7 separate regions of the Homo sapiens genome follow, and all the other regions are linked to region 4. The links are contacts of gene promoters, found by promoter capture Hi-C in blood cells and fetal thymus (Javierre and others, 2016). All regions are on one chromosome and are shown on one strand. Each heading gives the region's core, a stretch centred on a gene start or on the middle of the fragment in contact. The rest is flanking DNA. Distances are from core to core; before and after follow the strand shown.

Region 1 (4,011 bases), core at 738-3,237, 190 kb before region 4:
TCCTGTGACTTTTTTGAGGTATGAAGAGTAAATCCTGTGTCATGCATATGCTCATTGTTCTAAATATAAACTCATTGTTCAGTGAATATAATAGGAGTCATTAACCTAATTACTAACCTATGAAACTTCAAATCTAAATACACAGTAGTACTGTGGAAATGAATTTGAATTGTTCTTATGGTTTTAGCTATGATGAAAAGCTTCCCAAAGTACGTAAGTCAATATGTTCCCATAAGTTATCACCCCATCTTTTTCTTTTTCTTTATATATTTTTAAATTTAAATAGAGATGGGGTCTCCCTGTGTTGCCCAAGCTGGTCTCAAACTCCTGGGCTCAAGCCATCCTCCCCTGTTGGCCTACCAATGTGCGGGCATGACAGGTATGAGCCACTGCAATCAGTCCATATTTTTAATCATCTCATGAAGTTATCCAGAATGATAAAGAGTGGGTTCTTACTCTGTACAAGTTATAATCCGTTTACCTTGTAACTGTTTATAAGCCAATTAGGCAGAGGCACTCCATGAGACAAGAGCTTGTTGATTACACAGTGGTGATACAAGTTATTCTGGACTTTGTACCTCTCCAGGTAAGTGGATAATAGTCGCCATGCTTCATCTGTAGCACTTGAAAAAAACAAAAATGACTAATGAGTTTCAGATTCTTAATAGCTATTTAGAGTACCATTCAAAGCATGTATTTACAAGGAAAACTTTTTTTTCAGACAGGGTCTTGCTCTGTCACCCAGGCTAGAGTGGAGTGGTGTGATCTCAGCTCACTGCAGCCTCAGCCCCAGATTCTCCCATTTCAGCTTCCTAAATAGCTGGGAATACAGGCATGCACCACTATGCCCAGCTAATTTTGTTTATGTTTTGTAGAGACAAGGACTTGCTATGTTGTCCACGCTGGTATTAAACTCCAGAGCTAAAGTGATCCTCTGACCTTGTCCTCCCTAAGTGTTGGGATTACAGGCAGGAGTCACCATGCCCAGCCTTACAAGGAAAACTTTAGAAATTAACAACTGAATCAATAATATAGCTAAATGGGAACAAATATTATTTGGGCTAATGTGACTTATGGGGATAGCACTAGAAACTAGATGTCTTGGGTTCGTATATTCCTCTCCCACTAACGTATTTAGTATTTAGTAAACAAACATATTTAGTAAATGAACGTTATTTGTTTGGCTATTAATGCATAATTCATTTAACTCCTTTGTTTCTGCATTTCTAAAACAAGAAACTGGTTCAGAACACTGGTTCTCAAACCTGATCAAGCATTAGAATCATGCAGAAGTTCTAACTTAGAAGACTAGGGTGATTTCTCATAATCTGTATTTTAATAAGTTATTCTGATGTGCTAATTTAGGGGTTGAAAACTAATGTCAGAGAACTTCCAAATTCTAAAGTGCTATCACTCTAAAGTGCTAAGCTGTATAATACCAAGTGCAAATGCAGTTCAGAAAGGGAAGTTTACTGAGGGTTAGGAATGTTAGAGAAGGTTTCTGAAGAAGCTGAAGTATATTTACGTGGACACAAAGTGGGTGCACTGGGGAAGTATACGAACCAGAGGAGATCTGAAGAAGGTATAGTGGATGATGGGGGCTGATGGGTGACAGACTGCTGAACAGCAGCTGGAGACAAGATATAAGAGGACACTGTGATGAAACCATGCAGTGACTGCTCAGTGGAAGAAATGGGGGAAAAAAGGAGGATAACACTCCGAAACAAGTAAATACAGATTTTTGCCTGTAAGAGTACCCTTTCCTGATATGAAACAGTAAGTCTTTGAGGAGGGGGATATGGAGAAGGAGACATTTCATAGGCAAAGACATCCTAGTTTGGACAATAAATGACATGATGTCACCTTAATTATAAACTTTCCAGCCCCTATAAAAACTTAGCCAAAAAGAAAGAAAAAAGTGAAATGATCTATGTAGGACAATTTAGTCAGAGAAAGACAGTTACAGCTTTTAGAAAGGCAAAACTACCCAGGGTTGAACACCAGGGTTGTACCTAGACTCCTTAGTAGTGATGACAGATGAGAGCTGATTGGCTGCTAGCCAGGCCCAGGCTTCTGCTTGTGCTGCCTCTCCTCCAAATTGCAATTTGATGCATCTGGAATGAAAATGGTTCCACACTTGAAAACTGAACGCTGAAACGTACCACTTTAATTTGATACTAAAACTAGAGAGATAGATGACAACTTCATCTCTAGTCTTTTGCTGAATTCACTACTGGAATATTGGCTCATCTCTTCCTCAAGTTACACAACTGGATACCTACAAGAACATGAGTAAGCATTAAGAGACAATTTACTTCCAAGATAAAATTAATGATGAAAAATTCTTTTTTCTTTTCTTTTTTTTTGAGATGGAGTCTTGCTCTGTCACCCAGGCTGCAGTGCAGTGGTGCAATCTCAGCTCACTGCAACCTCTGCCTCCCAGGTTCAAGTGATTCTCCTGTCTCAGCCTCCTGAGTAGCTGGGACTACAGGCCCATGCCACCATGCCTGGCTAATTTTTTGTATATTTAGTAGAGACGGGGTTTCACTGTGTTAGCCAGGATGGTCTTGATCTCCTGACCTCATGATCCGCCCGCCTAGGTCTCCCAAAGTCCTGGGATAACAGGTATGAGCCACCGCACCTGGCCTCTTTTTTTTTTTAAATTAAGATGGAGTCTCGCTCTGTTGCCCAGGCTGGAGTGCAGTGGCGCAATCTCAACTCATTGTAACCTCCGTCTCCCAGGCTCAAGCGATTCTCCTGCCTTAGCCACCCAAGTAGCTGGGATTACAGGCACACGCCACCTCTCCTGGCTAACTTTTGTATTTTTAGTAGAGATGGGGTTTCGTCATGTTGGCCGGGCAGGTCTTGAACTCCTGACCTCAAGTGATCTGCCCACCTTGGCCTCCCAACGTGATGGCATTACAGGCGTAAGCCACTGCACCTGGCTGAAAAATTCTGAAAGTTCAAAATTATTTCTAATTCACAAACTTTTTTTTTTTTTTTTTTTGAAACAGAGTCTTGCTTTGTTGCCCAGGCTCGAGTGCAGAGGCGCGATCTCAGCTCACTGCAACCTCTGCCTCCCAAGTTCAAGAGATTCTTGTGCCTAAGCCTCCTGAGAGGCTGAAATTACTGTTGTGTGCCACACCCTCATTTTTGTATTTTTAGTAGAGACAGGGTTTCACCATGTTGGCCAGGCTGGTCCCAAGCGATCCACCCGCCACAGCCTCCCAAAGTATTAGTAGGATTACAGATGTGAGCCACTGTGCCTGGCCAAGAAATTCTTCTTCTTTTTTTTGAGACAGAGTCTCGCTCTGTCGCCCAGGCTGGAGTGCAGTGGCGCGATCTCGGCTCATTGCAAGCTCTGCCTCCCAGGTTCACGCCATTCTCCTGCCTCAGCCTCCCGAGTAGCTGGGACTACAGGCGCCCGCCACCACGCCCGACTAATTTTTTTTGTATTATTTTTAGTAGAGACGGGGTTTCACCTTGTTAGCCAGGATGGTCTTGATCTCCTGGCCTCGTGATCCGCCCGCCTCGGCCTCCCAAAGTGCTGGGATTACAGGCGTGAGCCACTGCGCTCAGCCTGAAATTCTTTTTAAGAATGCTTGGATGGATTAAACAAAACACTTCTTCAAATCATAAATGATATATGGGCTACTTGGCTTATGACGACTGTTTCACACTGAGCAAGAGGATAATATATTTGCATTAGAAAAGACTATAAAAAAATAATTTTATACATACTTGAAGGCAAGCCCTTCAAAGACTGGCGTTAAGGGAAGCTTAAAAGTCTGACAGAGTGATATGGCAGTGTCAAAGAGGCCCGCCTGAACCAAGAGAGTGACCATTTCCTCTGCTGATGAACTTCCTGTGAAAATGGAAAAAGATTATTTCGTGTAGCCAAGGTATACACAAATGAAACCAAAGATTTTGTTTTGTTGATGAGTATCTCTGAGTAATAACCCAGGCTTTATACCCATCTACCATGCTACATACACTGCCTGGACCTAAAAT
Region 2 (4,006 bases), core at 921-3,420, 150 kb before region 4:
GTGTTGGGATTACAGGCGTGAGCCACTGTGCTGGCCCACAAATTCCATCTTGTCTTTAATCTCCAAACTGCCTCTGGTCATTCCTGAGCATGGGCAAGGCTCACCTTGGGAGAAATTTAATTTATAGTTTAAATAATAATAGCCCTTCCCCAAAACCAAACCACCTTGGTAAAACTAATGAAAGGCCACCAGGTTAGGAAGATGAGAGGGGCCCGAATTCATAGTTAAATGATTACCAGTCATTATTCCGGAGGTCATAAGATTTGCAACTTCCCCAATTACTTCTGTAAATAACATCACCATTGTAGCACCTTACACTGGCCTTTTAAAATGTGTTTTCAGTTTTTTACATTTCTGGCCCCAGCCAGATGAGCAACTCTTCTGTGGCCCCGACCCAGAAGCAGACTCAGCGCATAGGATGGTTTTCCACACTCCTACAATTGCATCTCCAACCAGTCAGCAGCACTCATAGCCTCGCCCTGCCTGGCAAACTATCTTTGAAAAACCCTAGCCTCTAAATTTTCAGGGGGGCTGATCTGATTTGAGTTAACAGTAAAACTCCGGTCTCCTGTTTAGCTGGCTCTATGTGTATTAAACTCTCTCTATTCCAATTCCTGTCTTGATAAATCAGCTGTATGTATTGGGCACTTACAGAATGAAGTGCTGACAACACATGCTACATGGATGAACCTTGAAAATATTAAGCTAAGTGAAAGAAGCCAGTCACAGAAAACCACTTATATGATTCCACTGACATAATATGACCAGAATAAGTAACTTTATAGAGACAGAAAATAGATTAGCAGTTGTGTAGAGCTGGGAAGAAATGGGGGAAGGGAAGAATGATAGCTAAAAGGTATGGGGTTTCTTTTTGAGGTGATGGAAATGTTCTAAAGTTGACTATGGTAATGGTTGCTCGTATCTGTGGATATACTAAAACTCATTGAATGGTATACTTTAAATGGGTGAGTGAATTACATCTCAAGAAAGCTGTTTAAATAAATGAATAGGCTGGGCGTGGTGGCTCACACCTGTAATCCCAGCACTTTGGGAGGCTGAGGCGGGTGGATCACCTGAGGTCAGGAGTTCGAGACCAGACTGGCCCACATGGTGAAACCCCATCTCTATTAAAAATACAAAAAATTAGCCGGGTATGGTGGCAGGTACCTGTAATCCCAGCCACTGTGGAGGCTGATGAAGGAGAATTGCTTGAACCCAGGAGGCAGAGGTTGCAGTCAGTTGAGGTCACGCTACTGCACTCCAGCCTGGGTGACAAGAGTGCCAAACTCCATCACAAAAGAAAAAAAAAAAAGAATAAAGTGAACCTGTCATTTCAGGGAAAACAAATGACAGTATTTGTTGCCAATGATACATTTCAAGTTTTAAAGTGAAAACTATGATTTCAGAAAACTTCGTATCCACTAACATGAACTCCAGAGCTTCTCAAGGCTCTTCTGAGTGATCACCAATGATAATATCATCAATGATAATAGTTGTGCAGAAAGGGTTAACATAGCAGGCCTGAGGCTGCTCTCCTTAGAAAGTCTTGCTTGTACTCTGGGAGGCCGAAGTGGGCAGATCACAAGGTCAGGAGTTCGAGACCAGCCTGGCCAATATGGTGGGCACTGTGCCTCTAGCAAGCTTTCCTGGGAAACAACATTTTACACACATCATCACAATTCAGTGCTGGAAGAATTAAGCATGTCCTGTGAGACTCTACTGGGAGGGGACTCTTAGACGATTGTGTCTGGCTTCAGACTTCACTCCATGTGCCTTTTCCCTTTTTTCACTTTGCTTTGTATCTTTTCACTGTAATACATTTTAGCTGTCAGCACAACTACATACTGAGCCCTATGAGTCCTTTCAGAGTATTACTGGACATGGAGGTGAGGTGGTCTTGGGGATTACCCCCCAAAACAGTAATTTAGATACTGCATAATATAAAATGTGTCAATCCACATCCAGCCAGTTTTAATTTCTAATAAATTATAGGTATAACCCATATAAACAAAAGCTCTTTGCAGTTCTCGGTAAGAGTATAATAGGGTCCCGAGACCAAAAGTTTGAGAACCACTATTTTAGTGTGACAAACTAATTGTAACATGTCGAGGAGACTGATCAACAGGATGTTACATGAATAACAATGGAAGGAACTAAGGAAGTTAGAGCAGGGTCAATTCTCCTACCACCCACAACCTACATGCAGAGAAGAGTATACTTAGAGGAGATGGATAGGTATGTTCAAATAGTTCAAGGGTTGTCCTCCAGAAGAGAGAATAGAACAATTATGTGCAATCAAGATAAATGTCTTGATAGCATGATACTTTTGGGCCATATTAGGAAAAAACTGCAAGAATGAGCTCTTCCTCTTCCCTTCCATTCTGTTCCTGAGCAATCCAATCTAAAAACCTAGAGCAAGGTAGATATCCTTGCTGGCCAGAAGGTAAGGGTCGGGGACCTGGGGGGTTGGGGTTCGGCATAAGGAGTCAGTCTGAACAGGTTGAAGAGAACATCGGTGCAGGCATGTCCCAGCACAGGAGTGAGAACACTAGTGAGTGAGAAGGGCGTGCATGCAGGGGTGATATGGCCAGGTGTGATGAGGCAAGAGCCTAGGGACATAAGAAGACTGTCCACATTTGGGACTGCCTGACTTCGGGGGGAGGAGCACGAACAGTTTGAGATGGCTTCCACATGGACAGAAAGCTTGGTGCAGGATGGAAACTCAGGTTGGGTGAGGAGGAGGTCCATTGCATGGGGGCAGTCTGGTGGTCTCAGGGCCCAAACAGGGTAAGGAGGGCACCCACATTGGAGGAGCAATGTGGAGTGGGCTATGAGATCCCAACAGAAGTGAGAAGGGCATCCAGGAAGGGCAGTGGCCTAGCGTGGGGACTCAGTGGGGGAATCAGAGCTCCTGCATAGTAAGGGAGACAGACCCTACCTCACTGGGCTGTTATTAGGATTAAATGGATAAAACGCATATAGCATATGAGCCCAGAGTAAGCACAATCCCAGTGTCTGCTATTATTAATGTGCATAAAGGGACTGGCACAGCACCAAACACACAATGCTCAACAAATGGCTGTTTATTAAATGATTACACTATTACATCACATCCTACGTATCTCATCTACAGACAGCAGCTACTGTCTGGATGCTAAGCAAATTTATTTAGAAAAATTAACTTAACACCACATAACACCTACATCCCTTTCAGGAATTCTGTTTTTTCACCTAGAACTCCTAATTTGCTCTTCTTGTTTAGTTTCTGTTAACTTTTCCTTTCATGTTACTTTAAACTCTCTACTTCCTTTCATACTGACCCCTCCTTCAAGATCTTCTAATTCACATAGTAGCACGAAACCCAACCATCACCTCAGAAACACATCTAGGTCGGTGAAAAGAGCTTGAACAGACTCACTGAGTCTACAGCCATTTCTCCACATCAGTACACACAGAATAACTTGGTATGTGTCTTATTTGTTTCATACCTGTCCTCGTTTTGGTGCATGCATGTATATCCCCAGGTAGAGTCCCATGGTGGGGGAATAAGCAAGCCGTAATTTGTGTCCAGTTCCAGCAGTAAGCCGAAGGTCTTTCTTCACAGGGACATACTCCAGCATGTCAGCTACCATTAGGCACATTTGCTCCTGTCCAAGAAAATAGTTAATAGGTGATATTCAAGGGATATTCAGGCTAGAAGAACATACCTTTTGAAAGGATGGACCTTTCATTGTATCTACTGCTCTATCTAGTTTATCTGCTAAAAGACCTTACAGGTTTTTGTTTCAAAAGGGCTAACACAGGCCGGGCGCAGTGGCTCACGTCTGTAATCCCAGCACTCTGGGAGGCCGAGGTGGGTGGATAACCTGAGGTCAGGAGTTCGAGACCAGCCTGGCCAACATAGTGAAACCCCATCTCTACTAAAAAATACAAAAATTAGCCAGGTGCAGTGGTGCATGCCTGTTATCCCAGCTACTTGGGAAGCTGAGGCAGGAGAATCACTTGA
Region 3 (3,461 bases), core at 962-3,461, 230 kb before region 4:
TCACAAGGTCAGGAGTTTGAGACCAGCCTGGCCAACATAGTGAAACCCCATCTCTGCTAAAAATACAGAAATTAGCCCGGCATGGCGGCGTGCGCCTGTAATCCCAGCTATTCGGGAGGCTGAGGCAGAAGAATCGCTTGAACCTGGGAGGCAGAGGTTGCAGTGAACTGAGATCATGCCACTGTACTCCAGCTCGGATGACAGTGTGAGAGACTGTCTCAAAAAAATAAAATAGCTGGGCGTGGTGGCTCATGCCCGTAATCCCAGCACTTTGGGAGGCCAAGGTGGGAGGATCACATGGTCAGGAGTTCGAGATCAGCCTGGCCAATATGGTGAAACCCCGTCTCTACTAAACTACAAAAATTAGCCGGGCGTGGGACAGGCGCCTGTACTCCCAGCTACTCGGGAGGCTGAGGCAGGAGAATCGCTTGAACCCGGGGGGTGGAGGTTGCAGTGAGCAGAGATCGCGCCACTGCACTCCAGCCTGGGTGACAGAGCTAGGCTAGGTCTCAAAGAAAAAAAAAATAATAAAAATAAAAAATAAAAATAAAATAAAATAAAATAAAATGAACTATTCCTGAAATGAAATTTGTGATTAAAGTATCTGCTTCTCCCATTGGGGTAACACTTGTCCTATCCTCCTTTCTGTAACTGTAAATTTAAGTTATTATTATTATTTCTGGATGGTCTCACTCTGTCCAGGCTGGAACACACTGGCACAATGATAATTTTGAACTCCTGGGCTCAAGCTATCCTCTTGCCTCTGCCTCCTGAGTAGCTGGGACTACAGGTGTGTGCTACCTTGCCTGGGTAATTTTTCTTTTGTAGAGATGGGGTTGATCTTGTTATGTTTTCCAGGCTGGTTTAGAACTCCTGCACTCAAGCCATCTTCCTGCCCTGATTAAATTATTATTTTATTATTATTATTAAATTTTTTTTTGAGATGGAGTCTCACTCTGTCACCCAGGCTGGAGTGCAGTGGTGCGGTCTCAGCTCATTGCAACCTCTGCCTCCCAGATTCAAGCGATTCTCCTGCCTCAGACCCCCAAGTAGCTGGGACTACAAGCATGTGCCACTACACCCAGTTATTTTAGTATTTTTAATAGACGGGGTTTTACCATGTTGGCCAGGCTGGTCTTGAACTCCTAACCTCAAGTGATCCGCCTGCCTTGACCTCTCGAAGTGCTGGGATTACAGGTGTGAGCCACTGCGCCAAGCTCAATTATATTATTTTAAAGTATTTTTTTTGGGCTACATGCAGTAGCTCACACCTATAATGTAAGCAATTTGGGAGGCCGAGGCAGAAGCATCACTTGAGCTCAGAGTTTGAGACCTGTCTGGCAAACATGGTGAGACCACGTCTCTCAAAAAACAAACAAACAAACAAACAAACAAACAAAACCTGGCATGGTGGTGCACACCTGTAGTCCCAGCTACTAAGCAGTCTGAGGCAGGACTGCTTGAGCTCAGGAGAGTAAATCTGCAGTGAGCCATGGTCGTGCCACTGTACTCTAGCCTGGGTGACAGAGTCAGATCCTGTCTCAAAAATAAGTAAATAAAAAGGAAAGGTGCGGTGGCTTGTGCCTGTAATCCCAGCGTCTGAGGCAGGTGGATCACTTGAGGTCAGGAGTTCAAGACCAGCTTGACCAACTGGTGAAACCTCGTCTCTACTAAAAAAAAATAGAAAAATTAGTCAGGCGTTGTGCCTGTAATCCAAGCTACTCGGGAAGTTGAGGCAGAATTGCTTGAAACTGGGAGGCGGAGGATGCAATGAGCTGAAATCGCGCCACTCCCTTCCAGCCTGGGTAACCAAGCAAGACTCTGTCTCAAAAAGAAAAAAATTAAAATTAAAATATATTTTGATGCAAAAAAGTCTTTAAAATTGAAGATAAATTGGAATTCAATATACACTCCCTAAGGAATACAACTTACTTTTCTTACTAATTAGGCTATAGAAATGCTCAGGTTTCACTAACATAGTATCCGTTATTGAAAAATCCAAAATCTGAAACCGTTTGAGCACTGACATGATGATCAAAGGAAATGCTCACTGGAGCATCTCAGATTTCACATTTTCAGATTAAGAATACTCAACTGCTAAGTATAACGCAAATATTTCAGAATTCAAAAAAATTCAAAATCTAAATTATCTCCGATCCCAGGCATTTCAATTAAGAAATACTCAACCTGCAGTAGTTTTTAAAGTAGTTACCTTTATATTTTTAAAATGTCTTATATATGGAATCCGAAAAATAATAGAATGATTCTATGTGAAGTGGAGCCCTGTCTGGACTGCTGCTCCCACGTCCTTTGCAATGATCCAAGAGGCCTCTGTGATACCCTAAAGCTCTCAAAGAAAAAGTGAAGTGGGCCAGCTGCAGTGGCTCATGCCTGTAATCTCAGCACGTTGGGAGGCTGAGGCAGGTAGATCACCTGAGGTCAGGAGTTTGAGACCAGCCTGACCAACATGGTGAAACCCTGCCTCTAATAAAAATACAAAAATTAGCCAGGCATGGTGGCAGGTGCCTGTAATGCCAGCTACTCAGAAGGCTGAGGCAGGAGAATCACTTCTTGAGCCTGGGAGGCAGAGGTTGCAGTGAGCTGAGACAGCACCACTGCGCTCCAGCCTGGGCAACAGAGCGAGACTCCATATCAAAAAAAAAAAAAAAAAAAAAAAAAAGGCCAGATGTGGTGGCTCACGCTTGTAATCCCAGCACTCTGGGAGGCCAAGGCAGGCGGATCATGAGGTCAGGAGATCGAGACCATCCTGGCTAACACAGTGAAACACCGTCTCCACTAAAAATACAAAAAATAAGCCAGGTGTGGTAGCGGGTGCTTGTAATCCCAGCGACTCAGGAGGCTGAGGCAGGAGAATGGTGTGAACCCGGGAGGTGGAGCTTGCAGTCAGCTGAGATCGCACCACTGTACTCCAGCCTGGGTGACGGGGCGAGACTCTGTCTCAAAAAAAAAAAAAAAAAAAAAAAAAAAAAGAAAAAAGAAAAAAGAAAAAGTCAAGTGAGTAACCGCTATAAAGGCTACATAATACACAGAAACAAAGTGAAAGTTATGAAACTTATCCTATTTCACATGTATGACATAAAATATTAAGAGAAGGCTTCCACTCCTGTGCTCAGAGTAACGCTTATTAGATCTGAAAATAAACAAATGAGGTAAGTTTCGACACTGACCTTTTTAACTTCTCGCTTGGCTATGACTGGTCCACTTTTACTACTGGAAACAGAAATCGTTTTCTCCTTAGAATATATGTCTGTATTTACCACAAAACTAGTTTCAGCACCTGGCACAGAACTAAAAAAATATATACTTAGCAAGAGAAATATAAGACAAATACTATCAGCAAAAGATAAGGCTTCAATTTCCTTCTAGGCAATTTCACTTTTAAATTTATTCTTACCTGGGCTGGTAATGCTGTAATCCCTGTACCTGTGTGGCAAGATATT
Region 4 (3,761 bases), core at 1,005-3,504:
TTTTCCATGTTGGTCAGGTGGTCTTGAACTCCCGACCTCAGGTGATCCGCCCACCTTAGCCTCCCAAAGTGCTGGGATTATAGGCGTGAGCCACTGTGCCCAGCCCCCTGGTAGCATCTTAAATCAAGCTTTCCTTCCCTCTGGGTATCATGGACATGAACACCTTTTATGTCTCTGCCTCAAGAGGGGAGGAGGCACAGAGGAACAAAAATCCTTGTGAATTATGATAATTACATAGTGTTTAAATGAAGGGTGGCAAGGTGTGTAAGTCCATAGGTAAGGTTTCTTTTTTCTTTTTCTTTTCTTTTTTTTGAGATGGAGTCTCACTCTGTCACCCAGGCTGGAGTGCAGTGGTGCAATCTTGGCTCACTGCAACCTCCGTCTCCCGGGTTCAAGCGATTCTCCTGCCCTCAGCCTCTGGAGTAGCTGAGATTACAGGCACGCCATCACGCCCAGCTAACTTTTGTATTTTTAGTAGAGATGGGTTTTCACCATGTTGGCCAAGCTGGTCTCGCACTCCTGACCTCAAGTGATCTGCCTGCCCCGGCCTCCTGAAGTGCTGGGGTTACAGGTGTGGTGTGAGCCACCACGCCCAGCCTCTTCTTTTTTTTTTTTTTTTTTTTGAGACAGGTTTTCACGTTATTCCCCAGGTTGGAGTGCAGTGTTGCCATCTTGGTTTACTGCAGCCTAGGTTCAAGCCATCCTTGTATCGGCCTCCCAGGTAGCTTAGTCTACAGCTGTGTGCCACCACACCCGGCTAATTTTTGTAGAAACTGGGTTTCACCCCGTTGCCCAGGCTGGTTTCGAACTCTTGAGCTTAAGTGATCTAGTCACCTTGGCCTCCGGAAGTGCTGGGATTACAGGCGTGAGCCATCGTGCGGCCTGGCAAAGTTTCTTTATCCTCAGTGCTTGTCTGGGTGTGTTGTCTGGTGGGAACCACTTAGACCCTGTAAGTGAATGTGTATTCCCATCTTGTAGATGGTAACCTGAGGCCCAACGGGTGTCTGGAGGTAGTGTTGGACACCTCGTGGTCTGCATCTTGCTGCACACAGAATCCAGCCTAGACTCATTATCCTGGCCTTTGAAGTCTCCCCCAGTATGAATCCCCCAGCCTCCCATTCCTGTTTCTCCGAAGGCCAAGCTCGAAGCATCTGCTGCCTCGTTTCTGCCAAGTTGGCCCCACCTCCTGAGACACTTCTCCCCTCTACTGGCCTGGTGAAACTCAACACATCCTTCAAAGCCCAGCTCAGGTGTCACCTCTCTCCTGGTTGGAATTAACCTCTTCCTCCTTAGCACTCTCTGGTTTGGCCCTTTCTCTTGCGGCTTCTCCTGGGCAAGTGGCATAGCCTCCCTGATCCTAGTGTCTTCCTCTGTGCATGGGCACAGGAGTAATATCTGCTGTGATCTTTAACTCCTGTCAGTTCATTGACCTCTTTAACAACGTGATGAAAGCTTCCAGAAGAGCTAATGTATGTGGAGTCCCACGATGTGTCAGGCTAGGTGTTTAGGACTTTACTAACTACTGTCTCGTTTAATCGCGAATGCAGTGGACCTCTCTCTCCACACGTCCTAGTACGATCTTTATTTCACACGGGAGGAGAGGAGGGTGGGTGGGGTCGGCCAGAGAGGAGAAATGCGTCTCCAGAGTTCACAGGGCTGGTACTACCAGCAGAGCCCCGTCCACCATATGCCACAGCTGGGGTTCTAATCCCTGGACTGGCTTGTACTGGGCTCTCTGCCTCCCTGGCCGGCGCTCGGGGGCTGGGGGACAGAACACAATGTACAGCGTGCCTTCTACAATTTCGGGGTTCACGCACCCCCAAGCCCACCCAGGGCCAGGTCAAACGCGCCTTCGCCGGGTTGCTGTCTACAATCAGGCTTGGCTGCGCTCTCAGTAGGGGTCTCGGTCAACCTCTGCCCACCCGAACCCGGCGCCGTGGACCTGGTGTGAGGCTGGGGAGCCCGTCCTGAGGGGTGCCGGCTCGAGGCGCTAGAGCCACGGAGCCTGGTCCCGGGCTCCAAGTCCCAGGAATGTGGGAGGGCTGGGCGGAGGGGCGGGCGAGGCGGGAGCGCTTCCTCTGCCCGCGGGAGGGGATCCGCGGCCGGCTCGGAGGGGGCGGGGGCAGCGGCGGGCGGCGGCGAGGGGCTGCGGAGCTCCGCAGCCGCCGGGCCGGCCGGGGCGGGAGGAAGCGATGAATATTCAGAGGGGGAGGGGAAGGGAGGGGGCCGAGCGCTCGCCGCGGCTCCCTGCAGCAGCCCCAGCCGCATGACGCGCGGAGGAGGCAGCGGGAGCAGCCGCGGGAGCCGGGACCGGGTAGCCGCGCGCTGGGGGTGGGCGCCGCTCGCTCCGCCCCGCGAAGCCCCTGCGCGCTCAGGGACGCGGCCCCCCCGCGGCAGCCGCGCTAGGCTCCGGCGTGTGGCCGCGGCCGCCGCCGCCGCTGCCATGTCTCCGGGGAAGCCCGGGGCGGGCGGAGCGGGGACGAGGCGGACCGGCTGGCGGAGGAGGAGGCGAAGGAGACGGCAGGAGGCGGCGACGACGGTGCCCGGGCTCGGGCGCACGGCGGGGCCCGATTCGCGCGTCCGGGGCACGTTCCAGGGCGCGCGGGGCATGAAGCCGGCGGCGCGGGAGGCGCGGCTGCCTCCGCGCTCGCCCGGGCTGCGCTGGGCGCTGCCGCTGCTGCTGCTGCTGCTGCGCCTGGGCCAGGTAAGCGCCGGGTGGGCTCGGGCGGGGGGCAGGAGGCTGGGGCGGGACTGGCATTGACTGCACCTGCCCGAGCGTACCCCCCCGGGGGGTTCCGGGGAAGGGGGCGGGGGTCCGGATCCCCGGATCCCCGGAAGGCGACTTGCGGGGACCCCGGCCGGCCTCGCACGCCGGCGATCGATCCCTTTTCCGGCTGCCCAGGATCGGGGGAGAGAGGCGGGATCCGGGTGCCGCGGTGCCCGAGCCTCCCGGGGAAAGCCTCCGCGCGGGCTCCAGGCCGTCCCTGGCCCGGCTCTTCCCGGCGCTGGGCACATCTGGCGGGCACGGGCCCGGCTTCCTAGCCGGAGGCGGCCGGAGGGGGCGTGTTTGCGGAGGTCTGGGGACGCAGAGCCGGGCGGCCTGGCTGAGCCTTTGCCGACAGACCTCCGACCCGGCCTGCAGGGGCCCGAGGGGCGGCGGGGGCGACAGGGCAGGGCCAGGCGCTGGGCAGTGGGGCCCTGGGCGAGGCGCGGGACTCCGGGCCGAGGGCCCTGTTCCTGGGGAAAGTTCCCAGGCCGGGGAAAAGGTGGCCGCACGCTGGCTTTTCTCAAGGCAGCCGGCCCTCTTGGCGTCGTGCTTGATTTCATGGGTGTTTAATTCGTGCTTTGTGGGCGCTGGCTCCCCCTCCCCACCCCACCCTCACCCTCTTTTCTGGCTTCACTTTTCAGATAATGCTGTCCCTGGCGTTTTGGTGACCGACCTTTCCCCTTCCTGGCATTTCCATAGGGGCTGAGGCAGAGCAGCTGAAGGGGCATTCCCATTTCACAGATGGGGAACTGAGGGAGAGAAGTGAAATAGCGGAGCACCCAGCCCGTGCCATGGGAGCTGAGCCAGCGGGCACGTCCTCTTAGCCTCTGGAGCCTGTTGGGGTTTGAACCCGCAGGGGAAGCGGTCTAGGGCTGCCTTGCTGTGCGTTTCTGCAAATGACCATCTTGCTTGTTTTATACAGACACCATCTCTGAGGAAATGAGTTATTGGCTGGGGATGGAACCTGGTTTCAGGGAAAACTTCTCCAGCGCGA
Region 5 (3,692 bases), core at 770-3,269, 150 kb after region 4:
ACCAGCACTGCATTTTGCACTGTGCCATGAGATTTATAGACACTGTAGTGGCCTCCGAGGTAGGTATTGGGGTCCCCTTTTACAGATGAGGAAATGACACCCTGATGGCTGAACAGTTTGCCCAAAGCCACAGAGCTAGTGAGTAGCAGAGCAGGACTTGAACTCAGGGGTGTGTGGCTCTGGACCCAGGCTTATCCCACAAGAATGTCCATTCCTTCGCAGGAAGCACACCTTAGCATTCTTATAGATGTATTTTGGACTGGATCTTTGGGAAAATGAAATATGCTTGCATTTCTTTACCTTTTACTCTTTTACTATTTATTAGTTAGGATTAGGTTCAGCCACGAATAACACCACCAAAAACAACAACAACAAAACCCAAGTATCCGTGGCTTAAACAAGACAGGGGTTTATTTCTCTCTCCTGTAACAGAAGCCCAGTGCTAGGCAGGATGGGGATGATAGAGGTTATCCAAGGCTCAGTTGTATGAAACAGAAACTGTGAGCTATTTTAACCAAAAGGGATTTATCCTGGGAATTGAGGTTTTGCAGAATCATTGGAAGAGCTGGTGTATTAGTTTGCTAGGGCTACCAGAACAAGTACCAAAGGCTGTGTGGCTTGAACAGAAATAGACTTTCTCATAGTTCTGGAGGCTGAAGGTCAAAGATTAAGGCAACGGCAGGTGTGGTTTCTTCTGAGGCCTCCCTCTTGGCTTATAGATGACTGTCTTCTCCCTCACATGGTTGTCCTTAGTCTGCGTGTGCCTATGCCCTCATCTCCCTTTATAAGGACACCAGTCTTGCTGGATTAGGGCCTACCTTCATGACCTCACATTAACTTAATTACCTCTTTGAAGACCCTGTCTCCAAAGACAGCCACATTCTGAGGTCTTGGGGGTTAGGACATAAACATACACATTTGGGGGTGAGGGAGCACAAGTCAGCTCATAACAGTTGAGGAGCAGGCTTTAGGCCTCGCCCCAAGAAATGACTCCTGGACTAAGTCTGCAGAACTGACCCCCTGGAGAGTCACCACCTTGGTCACAGACAGCAGAGGGAGGAATCAGGAAGTCTCTGCTGTAGTTGCGGGATCCAGGGGTCTATGTTCTGAGCTGTGATCCTGGGATCAGGAAGCTGCAGCCACCGCTGAGGTTTTGGTTCTAGAGCCAGGCAGCGTGAGCTCCAGTCATTGCATCCACACTACAGGTATAAGAAGGAGGAAGGGCAGAAGGTTGTGCCCCACCCTTAAAGGACACTTCCTAGAAGTCACCCAGTACCTCTGCTCATGCTTCGTTGAGCAAAACTTAGTCACATTGCAACATCTAGCTCCATGGGAGCTGGGAAATGTGGTCTTTGTTTCCAACAGGTATGCACACACAGGGCTAAAAATCTGGGTGGGTATGATGAAGGGAAAATGGGGGAATGGATTTTGGGGGTCAAGACTGGTCTCTCTCTGCTGTCCCTCCCTGAACAGAGGCTCTGGGAGGCTAGTAATGCATTCGAGATAAAGCAGCCAGTGTGGCCAAGGTTCTCCTCCAGAGCCTGAGCCCTTGACCACAGGAGCTCACGCCTCCTCTCATTTCCTGTGAATGATTGTGTGCAATGTAAGCACAGAGCTTCTGCACTCTCATGATCAAGTGCTCTCTCCATGGCCAGAAACAGCAGTTTCTGAGGGGCTCATGTTGTAGGTGATGATACAAAGAAGACAGAGAGAGGGATCAGGTGTCCTAAGTGTACATTTCATCTCAGTATTTTCTGAGGTGGGGCATCCCTGTCTCCTGGAGAAGTATATTTTTAATCTAGTTGTTTACTTTCTTTGCATAGCCCCTGTTCCAGTTTCTGACTTCCGAGTGACAGTGGTCAGCACGACGGAGATCGGCTTAGCATGGAGCAGCCATGATGCAGAATCATTTCAGATGCATATCACACAGGAGGGAGCTGGCAATTCTCGGGTAGAAATAACCACCAACCAAAGTATTATCATTGGTGGCTTGTTCCCTGGAACCAAGTATTGCTTTGAAATAGTTCCAAAAGGACCAAATGGGACTGAAGGGGCATCTCGGACAGTTTGCAATAGAACTGGTAAGCAAATAGGCTTTTCTGTTAAACCATCATGTTTCTTAAAGGAAATCAGTATAATTAATAAACATAATGTTTCCAAATATTGTTTTTCTTTTAATTATCTAAGAAAAAACTTTAAAAATTTTCATAACACTAATGCTTATTTATTATATGAAATACAGACAAGTAAGTAGAAAAAACTTACATGGAAACCATCAAGCAGAGATAATCACTTTTGATGTATGACATTTTACAATTTTTAAACATATACATATAGATACACAAATATATGTGTGAGTATACATATATTTAATACATATATATTTAATATTTAATACACACACACACACACACACATATATATATATATATATATTTTTTTTTTTTTTTTTTTTTTTTTTTGAGACAGTCTTACCCTGTCACCCAGGCTGGAGTGCAGTGGCATGATCTTGGCTCACTGCAACCTCCATCTCCTGGGTTCAAGTGAAGCGATTCTTGTGCCTCAGCCTCCTGAGTAATTGGAATTACAGGTGTGCACCACCATGCCTGGCTAATTTTTATAGTTTTAGTAGAGACAGGGTTTCGCCATATTGGCCAGGCTGGTCTTGATCTCCTGATCTCAAATGATCTGCCCACCTCAGCCTCCCAAAGTGCTTGGATTACAGGTGTGCGCCACTGCACCCAGCCCACAAATATATATTTATTTCTTTCACAAACATTGAGGCCATCTGTACATGTGGTTTTGTAATCTGCCTTTTCCCCAACTTGCCAATTAATTATGAATATTCTTTCCTCTTAATAAAATATTTCTACAGGATGATTTGAACACCTGCCTGGAATTCCATCATCTGAAACAGAGTTGGCAGATAAGAATGGCCCCTATGCCAAATTTGGCTCATTGTCTGTTTTTGTAAATAAAGTTTTATTGGATCACAGCCATGTTCATTTGCTTATGTACTGTCTATGGCTACTTTGGTGCTAGAATTGAGTAGTGGCAGCAGAGAACGTGTGGCTTGTGAAGCCTGAGATATTTATTTTCTGGCCATTACAGAGAATGTTTGCTGACCTCTGGGCTAGATCAGTGGTTTTCAAATTGTGGTCCAGGGCTCTCTAGGGATCCCTAGGTTCTTTCAAGGGGTCTCCAAGGTAGTATTATCATAACAATACTAAAATGTTATTTGGCTTTTTCATTCTCATTCTCTTTTGGAGTTTTCCAACTTTGATCCGATATGGGATGACATTGTCTCTCAGGTCTAATGGAATATATGCTGTGGATTCTTACATTTTAAAAATTTCTTCATTTTAAATCCCTGATATAGTAAATATTAATAAATATAACCTATGTAAATACAAATTCTCTGAGAGCCTTAATAACTTTTAAGATGGTAAAGAAGTCCTGAGAGCAAAAAGTTTAAGAACCTCTGGTCAAGATGTGTTAGAAATTAACTACTGTGCTGTGTTGGGCAGGTGGACTGTTCACAGTCTTTCCTAAACAACACTGTGATGAGATACTTTGTTAGTTCTAGAAGGCTAATTGAAATTGATAAAATCATTTTATAGTCAGCTACGGTGGCCTGCACCCATCGTCCCAGCTACTTGAGAGGCTGCGGCAGGAGGATTGCTTGGCCCAAC
Region 6 (3,687 bases), core at 254-2,753, 200 kb after region 4:
GCAAAGCTAACCACTATCCTGGCTGCTAACCTTTTAAGTTGGTTCTGTGCTCAATTTTTTGAAACTTGCTTCTTTTTTAAAATTAAAAATTTTTATTTTTAGAGACGAGGTCTCACTCTGTCATGCAGGCTGCAGTGCAGTGGCACTGTAATGGCTCACCGTAGCCTCAGACTCCTGGACTCAAGTGATCCTCTCACCTCAGCCTCCTGAGTAGCTGGGACTACAGGTGCGTGCCACCACACCTGGCTAATGAAACTTGCTTTTTTTTTTTTTGAGACAGAGTTTCGCTCTTGTCACCCAGGCTGGAGTGCGATGGTATGATCTTGGCTCACTGCAACCTCTGCCTTCCGGGTTCAAGCAATTCTTCTGTCTCAGCCTCCCAAGTACCTGGGACTATAGGCATGTGCCACCATGCCTGGCTAATTTTTTTGTATTTTTAGCAAAGACAGCGTTTCACTGTGTTGGCCATGCTGGTCTTGAACTCTTGACCTCAGGTGATCCGCCCACCTCAGCCTCCCAAAGTGTTGGGATTACAGGCCTGAGCCACCGTGCCTGGCTGAAACTTGCTTTTTATACTTGACATATTGTGAACTCTTTCTGTGTTATTAGGTATTCATCCTGTTCACCATTTTAAGAGCTGCATAATACTCCATAGTATGGACACATACCACTCTCGAGTTAACTACTCTTTTATTGATTGCCATTAGATTATTTCTGATTTTACTCTCCTGTGAATAAGGATGTGGCATCTATCACAGTAGCCAGATCTTTGCAGACATCACAATTAATTTCTTAGTAAACTTTTCTATAAAATTAATGAATCGAAATATATAAAAAGGTAGGGCTTTAGGCTGGTCGTGGTGGCTGATGCCTGTAATTCCAGCACTTTGGGAGGCCAAGGCAGGTGGATTGCCTGAGCTCAGGAGTTTGAGACCAGCCTGGGCAACAAGGCAAAACGTCATCTCTACCAAAAAATACAAAAAATTAGCCGAGTGTGGTGGCACATGCATGTTGTCCCAGTTGCTTGGGAGGCTGAAGTGGGGGGGATCACTTGAGCCTGGGAGGCAGGTTGTGCCAAGATTGTGTCACTGCACTCTAACTTGGGTGACAGAGTGAGATCCTATCTCAAAAAAGAAAAAAAGGTAACGCTTAGATGAAATTCTGCTAAATTTTTCTCTAGATAGCAATTTACACTCTCATTATAGTGTGTGAGAATGCCTGTTTCTTTACAGCTTCATCCACAATGAACATTATAATAATGAACACCCCGCCCCCCTCCTTTTGTAACTTGAATAGGCAAATGAAAAAGAAGCAAACTGTGCTAGGCCTTTCTTGGATTGCTGTAAAGAAACACCACCTGAGACTGTTTAATTGATAAAGAAAAGAGGTTTTAGTTTGGCTCATGGCTCTGCAGGCTATACAGGAAGTGTGGTGCTGGCATCTGCTTCTAGTGAGGGCCTCAGGAAGCTACAATCACGGAGGAGGGTGACCGGGAGCCAGCATGTCACATGGCAAGGGCAGGAGCAAGAAAGAGAGGGTGACAGATGGGGGGACGTGTCACATGCTATTAAACAACCAGATCTTGCGTGAACTCGGAGGGAAAACTCGCACTTCACCAAGGGGATGGCTGTGAGCCATTCACAAGGGATTCGTCCCTATGATTGGAGCACTTCCCACCAGGCCCCATCTCCAACACTGGGAATTATATTTCTTCCTTTTTTTTTTTCTTTGAGGCGGAGTCTCCCTCTTTTGCCCAGCCTGGAGTGCTGTGGCGCGATCTCGGCTCATCACAACCTCCGCCTCCTGGGTTCAAGTGATTCTCTTGCCTCAGCCTCCTGAGTAGCTGGGATTACAGGCTCCCACTACCATGCCCAGCTAATTTTTGTATTTTTAGTAGAGATGGGGTTTCACCGTGTTGGCCAGGCTGGCCTCAAACTCCCGACCTCAAGTCATCTGCCCATCTTGGCCTCTCAAAGTTTGTGATTACAGGTGTGAGCCACCATGCCCAGGAGGAATTACATTTCAACGTGAGGTTTGGAGGGGACAAACATCCAAACAATATCACAAACTCAAAACTTCTGGGAGCCTTTATATGGAGTTGGGAGCACCGGTTCGAGTCTCCCACTTAGTGAGGGCCACACATCCAGGATCTAAGGAATTCTGTCCTGTGTTTCCACAGCTGCAGTCTTGGGTGTGAGACCAGGTGTCATATCAGGAGACCAATTTTGTTATGTCAAAATTGCATGCTCAGGGGTCATGGTTGTGTCTTGGACAACCTGATCCAGACTCATAGGCCCTGATGCTGCAGCCTTGGCAGTGTGAGGGTCCTTCTGAGGCATTTCATGTTCCCTGACATGGGCCATAGACTCCCTAGATGGGAAGAATCCGTGAAGGCCCTTTCAACAAATCCACTGGTCCTATCCACTCCACCTAGCCTGGAGGCTTAATTACTTCCAGAACCTTTAGAGGGAGGGAGATGGCATGGCTCTTTCTTGGAAAGTCTGGAAGGACACCATGGGCTAGAGGGGACAGACACATGCCTCATGTGGCCTCACAGGTCAGCCTAGGACCTGTGACAGTGACAGGGAGACAGGTTTGGCTTAACACAAGGAAGGGCCTTTTGAGGAGCAAACTCCCCTGAGGGGTCAGCCCTCTCATGGGAGCAGCTCAGGGGAGAAGGCTCAGCCTTGGCTGCTGGGAAGGCCTCTTTCCTGGAGCGTGACTGATGACTTTGTGCCTCCCTCTGCTCTACCTCCTGGTGTAATGTTGTTGGTCCTGGGGGCAGTGAGATGGAAAGAAGGCATCAGGGAACAAGATGGATCTGCCCTTTGCATTTGCTTCTGATGGGGAGGGGGTCATCTCAGTCACTTCATGGTAACCAGCTGAAGCAGGAGGGTATCTGGGGTTGTGGATGGGACATGGCTGTGTCCCAACCACCAGCCTGCCTCCACTACATTCTGCTCAGAATCCACCCTCCAGCCATAATAAACCACTTACACATGATTTCTACACATGAGATTGTTGGATATAAAATGCTCCAGGAATAAATGCTCGGTGCAGCGAAGTAAAACCAGCACTCAGGCAAAAGTTTAATTCTCTCAGCAAGGCAATTTACTTCTGTAGAAGGGTGTCACTTGCATCAGTAAAAATCACAAGAGCACAGAGAACAAAGGAGACCAGGGAGTTTTTATCCTTAATGCAGTCCCTATCTCTGTGTCACTCCCCCATGGGCTGGGGTCAGACTGCAAAATCTGAGCTGACCCAGTTGGCTACTTGTACATATTTTCCTAAATATAGAAGGGGAGGGGGACGTGAGGTACAGAGGTGGAACGTGTGAGATGTGCAGTTTCGGGGGAACAATGGGTAGAGGTCACCAAGGGAACAGATTTATTGATTAGAGCTAACGGACATGGGGTAGGCTGTTTATGCTAACTAGGGGCAAGGAAGAACAAGAAAGTTGAGTTTGCGAACGAGGGATAAGGAAGTTAACAGGCTAAATCCTTTGAAGAGAAACTCAGAAAGATTTATTGTATCTTACAAGGTATCTTCTTTTTGCTCAAATTCTTGTATGCTTCCCCCTTTCCTTGGCCAAACTCAGCTTTAGTCATTCCTCACTCTAGAAAGCCTTCTCTTACTCCTTTCTATTTAGACTGTGCTACCATAGAATCTCACACATGACCTTGGGGC
Region 7 (3,784 bases), core at 919-3,418, 170 kb after region 4:
CAGTTTTGATACATACTGCCAAATTACCTTCCAGAAAGTTTTTCTTAAATACCAATGCAGAGTTGAGTCAACAGTGCAGGAGTGTGCAGATGCCTCACCAACTTGCCAGTTCCGGATCTGATATGTTTTTTGGTTTATTGCATTCATTTATCAGAAAAGCTTTCTCAAAAACAAAGTATGAAATAACAAGTCTTGCTTTACATTAAAGTAATGCCACTGCTATATATTTGCAAGGAAGTTCTTAAAAGTGACTTGGATATGATTTTTTTCATTCTTTTAGATAGTACAAAAGAAAATAACTTCACAAATTTGTAATTAGCATTTGCAGCTTGGGTCATTAAGTTTAGTATTAGGGGGCAGGATTTGGTGTCAGCTGTGAACTAATGCCTGAGGAAAAGGTGTAACACCTTTATTTCATAGATGACATCAACTCCAGATACACAAGGGAAAAGCACAGGAAGGAATCCTTTTTTGTCTAATGGGTCTCTTTTCTCTTAAAACAGGAAAGATGCAAAGAATAATGAAGTGTCCTTTTCTCAAATTAAGTAAGTCTCTCAAATTATGAGCTTTATTTTAAATCCTCCAATCTGTTCGGTGACTATCTATAAATAATTTTTGATGGAACTTGCTGTCATTTTTCCTGATTGGCACATTTTGACCATGACCATCTGGAAGTTTTTGCTAGCTCTGTTTTCTGCAAGGAATCTATGTTTTATTAGTCTCCTGAAGCTGGCTTCCTTGTCATGTTCTACTCTTCTACCAATAAATACGGATTTCTTGATTAAAAAAACGTCAAATAGGTTATCAAGATCCAGGGGAGAGAAGAACTTACTTAAAGTCACAAAACCAATTAGTTACAAAGTAGGGTCTAGAAATCAGATTTCCTGAATCATATTTTAGTGTTTTGTGAATAATAGTACTCTGACCCCCTCTTGCCAAATTATACCCTGGGTTTTGTTGTTTTGGGAAGATTGTTTACTGTCATTTCTAGAGTATGAATGAGTCTTTCTAATTGCATATTTTTTCTTTCCCTTTCTATCATGAAGACCTAAAAAGTGAGTAATCTCTTTATTTTTTTTAATAACTTGTACTTTTCTATTGAATATGGACTTCACTGAATGTAAAAAATCCTGATAAGTTTTGTTTTCTTAGATCTAAGTTAATCAGAGTGGAGAATTTTGAGGCCTACTTCAAGAAGCAGCAAGCTGACTCCAACTGTGGGTTCGCAGAGGAATACGAAGTATGTTGCTGTAAATACTGTTTTTAATTGTGTCAGGTTCCAACCCAAGCTGGGATCTGAGGGGAGTTGGTGGATGGGTGGCAGGTAGCTGAAAGAACACTCGAGGGACTGTAGGCAGTTGGGACATGGCTTTATTCTCTCTCCTACAGAGTCAGCAGTGCAGTTATATTACTCACAGACAATAGTGGCTCAAAGCCAGGTATGAACTCACACAAACAGGTTACATTAAATGGCTATATAACGCAAGGGGTTGTTGCGCTCCAAACCCTTTGCGTCATACTGTCCTGGATGTCTACCTTGGACTACTCCTGACTGAAGCACAGCCACTTTCCTTAGAAATTGGCTTGTTTTTCCTGAAAGTTAGAAAACTGTTAACAGAAACTAGGAATTCAAGTCAGGGAACTGTTAGCCACAATACTTAGGAAGCTATATGAGCTGGAAAGAAACCAAATGGGCATGTAGAGGTCTGGGGCTTGATGGCAGTGTGGCCTAGGATGGCTTGTGAGGCTCACTTCTGAAGCCCTGCACAAGGAATTTCTTGGCCAGTGTCTGCCTTTCAGTTCCCCATGCTGTGCTCCAACCAGCCCAGGAACCAGCCCTGCTCAGAGTGACCATGCACACTCGTCCTCCTGTGCTGCCCTGTCCAGCATCTCTGCCTTTGCTCTCTTGAAATCCTGCTCAGCACTCAGCACAGTGCACATGCTGCTTCCTCCATGGGCATTCTGGGATCCCATTAGGAGGACTTGAGTTCTGTGTGCTCAGACTGCCTTGTTTCCCCTGTTGCTTGTTACCAATATTCAGCATTTCTTTAATTCTGCCTTTTTGTAATGTTAGTTTTTTCTGTGTACAGTACACCTCTCCTCCAGGTTGCAACTGCTTGAAGGCAAGGGTTATCCTTTTTCCTATATTCTAACCTTTGTATTAGTTCTCTAGGCTGCCATAAAAAAGCACCACAAACTGGGAGGCTGAAAACAACAGAAATTTACTGTCTAGAGGCCACAAGTCCCAAATTAAGGTGTGGGCAGGGTCACACTCCCTTCTAAACCTCTGGGCAGCGCCCTTCCTTGCCTCCGCAGCTTCTGGGAGCCCCAGGCGTCCCTTGGTTTTGTGGCAGCAACACTCTGATGTCTGCCTCTGTGTTCACATGGCCATCTCCCCTCATGTGTCTATGTCTCTTTGTCTCTTTTCCTCCTATAAGGACACTAGTCATATGGGATTCAGGGCCCACTCTAATCTAGTATGATCTCATTTTAATTTGTTTACATTTGTAAAGAGCCTTTTTTTTTTATACTTTAAGTTCTAGGATACATGAGCACAACATGCAGGTTTGTTACATATGTGTACATGTGCCATGTTGGTGTGCTGCACCCATTAACTCATCATTTACATTAGGTATATCTCCTAATGCTATCCCTCCCCCCACCCCATGACAGGCCCCGGTGTGTGATGTTCCCCTCCCTGTGTCCAAGTGTTCTCATTGTTCAATTCCCACCTATGAGTAAGAACATGCGGTGTTTGGTTTTCTGTCCTTGCGATCGTTTGCTGAGAATGATGGTTTCCAGCTTCATCCATGTCCCTACAAAGGACCTGAACTCATCCTTTTATGGCTGCATAGTATTCCATGGTGAATGTGTGCCACATTTTTCTTAGTCCAGTCTATCATTGATGGGCATTTCGGTTGGTTCCAAGTCTTTGCTATTGTGAATAGTGCTGCAATAAACATACATGTGCATGTGTCTTTATAGCAGCATGATTTATAATCCTTTGGGTATATACCCAGTAATGGGATGGCTGGGTCAAATGGTATTTCTAGTTTCATATCCTTGAGGAATCACCACATTGTCTTCCACAATGGTTGAACTAGTTTACAGTCCCAACAACAGTGTAAAAGTGTTGCTATTTCTCCACATCCTCTCCAGCACCTGTTGTTTCCTGACTTTTTAATGATTGCCATTCTAACTGGTGTGAGATGCTATCTCATTGTGGTTTTGATTTGCATTTCTCTGATGGCCAGCGATGATGAGCATTTTTTCATGTGTCTTTTGGCTGCATAAATGTCTTCTTTTGAGAAGTGTCTGTTCATATCCTTCGCCCACTTTTTGATGGGGTTGTTTGATTTTTTCTTGTAAATTTGTTTAAGTTCTTTGTAGTTTCTGGATATTAGCCCTTTGTCAGATGGGTAGATTGCAAAAATTTTCTCCCATTCTGTAGGTTGCCTGTTCACTCTGATGGTAGTTTCTTTTGCTGTGCAGAAGCTCTTTAGTTTAATTAGATCCAATTTGTCAATTTTGTCTTTTGTTGCCATTGCTTTTGGTGTTTTAGACGTAAAGTCCTTGCCCATGCCTATGTCCTGAATAGTATTGCCTAGGTTTTCTTCTAGGGTTTTTATGGTTTTAGGTCTGACATTTAAGTCTTTAATCCATCTTGAATTAATTTTTGTCAGTTTCAGCTTTCTACATATGGCTAGCCAGTTTTCCCAGCACCATTTATTAAATTGGGAATCCTTTCCCCATTGCTTGTTTTTGTCAGGTTTGTCAAAGATCA

What was found. The method cuts DNA at HindIII sites, captures the fragments that hold promoters and counts their contacts. A CHiCAGO score of 5 or more calls a contact.
Region 1: a fragment that was not itself captured here is called in contact with the fragment with the promoter of PTPRJ in region 4 in 4 of 17 cell types (total B cells, naive B cells, total CD8 T cells and 1 more); the score reaches 7.0 in total B cells.
Region 2: a fragment that was not itself captured here is called in contact with the fragment with the promoter of PTPRJ in region 4 in 1 of 17 cell types (naive B cells); the score reaches 5.2 in naive B cells.
Region 3: a contact is called between a fragment that was not itself captured here and the fragment with the promoter of PTPRJ in region 4, in 2 of 17 cell types (activated CD4 T cells and total B cells). The highest score is 5.4, in activated CD4 T cells.
Region 5: a fragment that was not itself captured here is called in contact with the fragment with the promoter of PTPRJ in region 4 in 12 of 17 cell types (M1 macrophages, M2 macrophages, megakaryocytes and 9 more); the score reaches 12.1 in M1 macrophages.
Region 6: a fragment that was not itself captured here is called in contact with the fragment with the promoter of PTPRJ in region 4 in 1 of 17 cell types (neutrophils); the score reaches 5.1 in neutrophils.
Region 7: a fragment that was not itself captured here is called in contact with the fragment with the promoter of PTPRJ in region 4 in 4 of 17 cell types (M1 macrophages, neutrophils, M2 macrophages and 1 more); the score reaches 12.2 in M1 macrophages.

What each region holds. Positions count from the first base shown.
Region 1 is chr11:47,784,441-47,788,451 of GRCh38, forward strand. It overlaps NUP160 (nucleoporin 160), which reads right to left. Exons shown (of 36, transcript NM_015231.3): 31 at 3,742-3,865; 32 at 2,013-2,114; 33 at 482-623. Among named protein-coding and RNA genes, the nearest start is that of FNBP4, 19 kb to the left of the region's middle. The HindIII fragment of the contact is 3,579 bases long and covers 199-3,777 here.
Region 2 is chr11:47,832,163-47,836,168 of GRCh38, forward strand. NUP160 (nucleoporin 160) reads right to left here. Exons shown (of 36, transcript NM_015231.3): 7 at 3,489-3,647. Among named protein-coding and RNA genes, the nearest start is that of NUP160, 14 kb to the right of the region's middle. The HindIII fragment of the contact is 1,062 bases long and covers 1,640-2,701 here.
Region 3 is chr11:47,747,728-47,751,188 of GRCh38, forward strand. It overlaps FNBP4 (formin binding protein 4), which reads right to left. Exons shown (of 17, transcript NM_015308.5): 5 at 3,416-3,461; 6 at 3,189-3,309. Among named protein-coding and RNA genes, the nearest start is that of FNBP4, 18 kb to the right of the region's middle. The HindIII fragment of the contact is 7,780 bases long and covers 1-3,461 here.
Region 4 is chr11:47,978,305-47,982,065 of GRCh38, forward strand. It overlaps PTPRJ (protein tyrosine phosphatase receptor type J), which reads left to right and starts at 2,255. Exons shown (of 25, transcript NM_002843.4): 1 at 2,255-2,704. The coding sequence starts at 2,609. RefSeq lists silencers at 2,166-2,755, 2,856-3,285. The HindIII fragment of the contact is 2,862 bases long and covers 1,451-3,761 here.
Region 5 is chr11:48,128,636-48,132,327 of GRCh38, forward strand. PTPRJ (protein tyrosine phosphatase receptor type J) reads left to right here. Exons shown (of 25, transcript NM_002843.4): 8 at 1,824-2,081. Among named protein-coding and RNA genes, the nearest start is that of MIR3161, 34 kb to the left of the region's middle. The HindIII fragment of the contact is 4,254 bases long and covers 1-3,692 here.
Region 6 is chr11:48,174,144-48,177,830 of GRCh38, forward strand. No RefSeq gene overlaps it. Among named protein-coding and RNA genes, the nearest start is that of OR4B1, 41 kb to the right of the region's middle. RefSeq lists a silencer at 2,750-2,922. The HindIII fragment of the contact is 5,624 bases long and covers 1-3,687 here.
Region 7 is chr11:48,148,944-48,152,727 of GRCh38, forward strand. PTPRJ (protein tyrosine phosphatase receptor type J) reads left to right here. Exons shown (of 25, transcript NM_002843.4): 16 at 504-545; 17 at 1,047-1,055; 18 at 1,153-1,240. Among named protein-coding and RNA genes, the nearest start is that of MIR3161, 54 kb to the left of the region's middle. The HindIII fragment of the contact is 4,023 bases long and covers 158-3,784 here.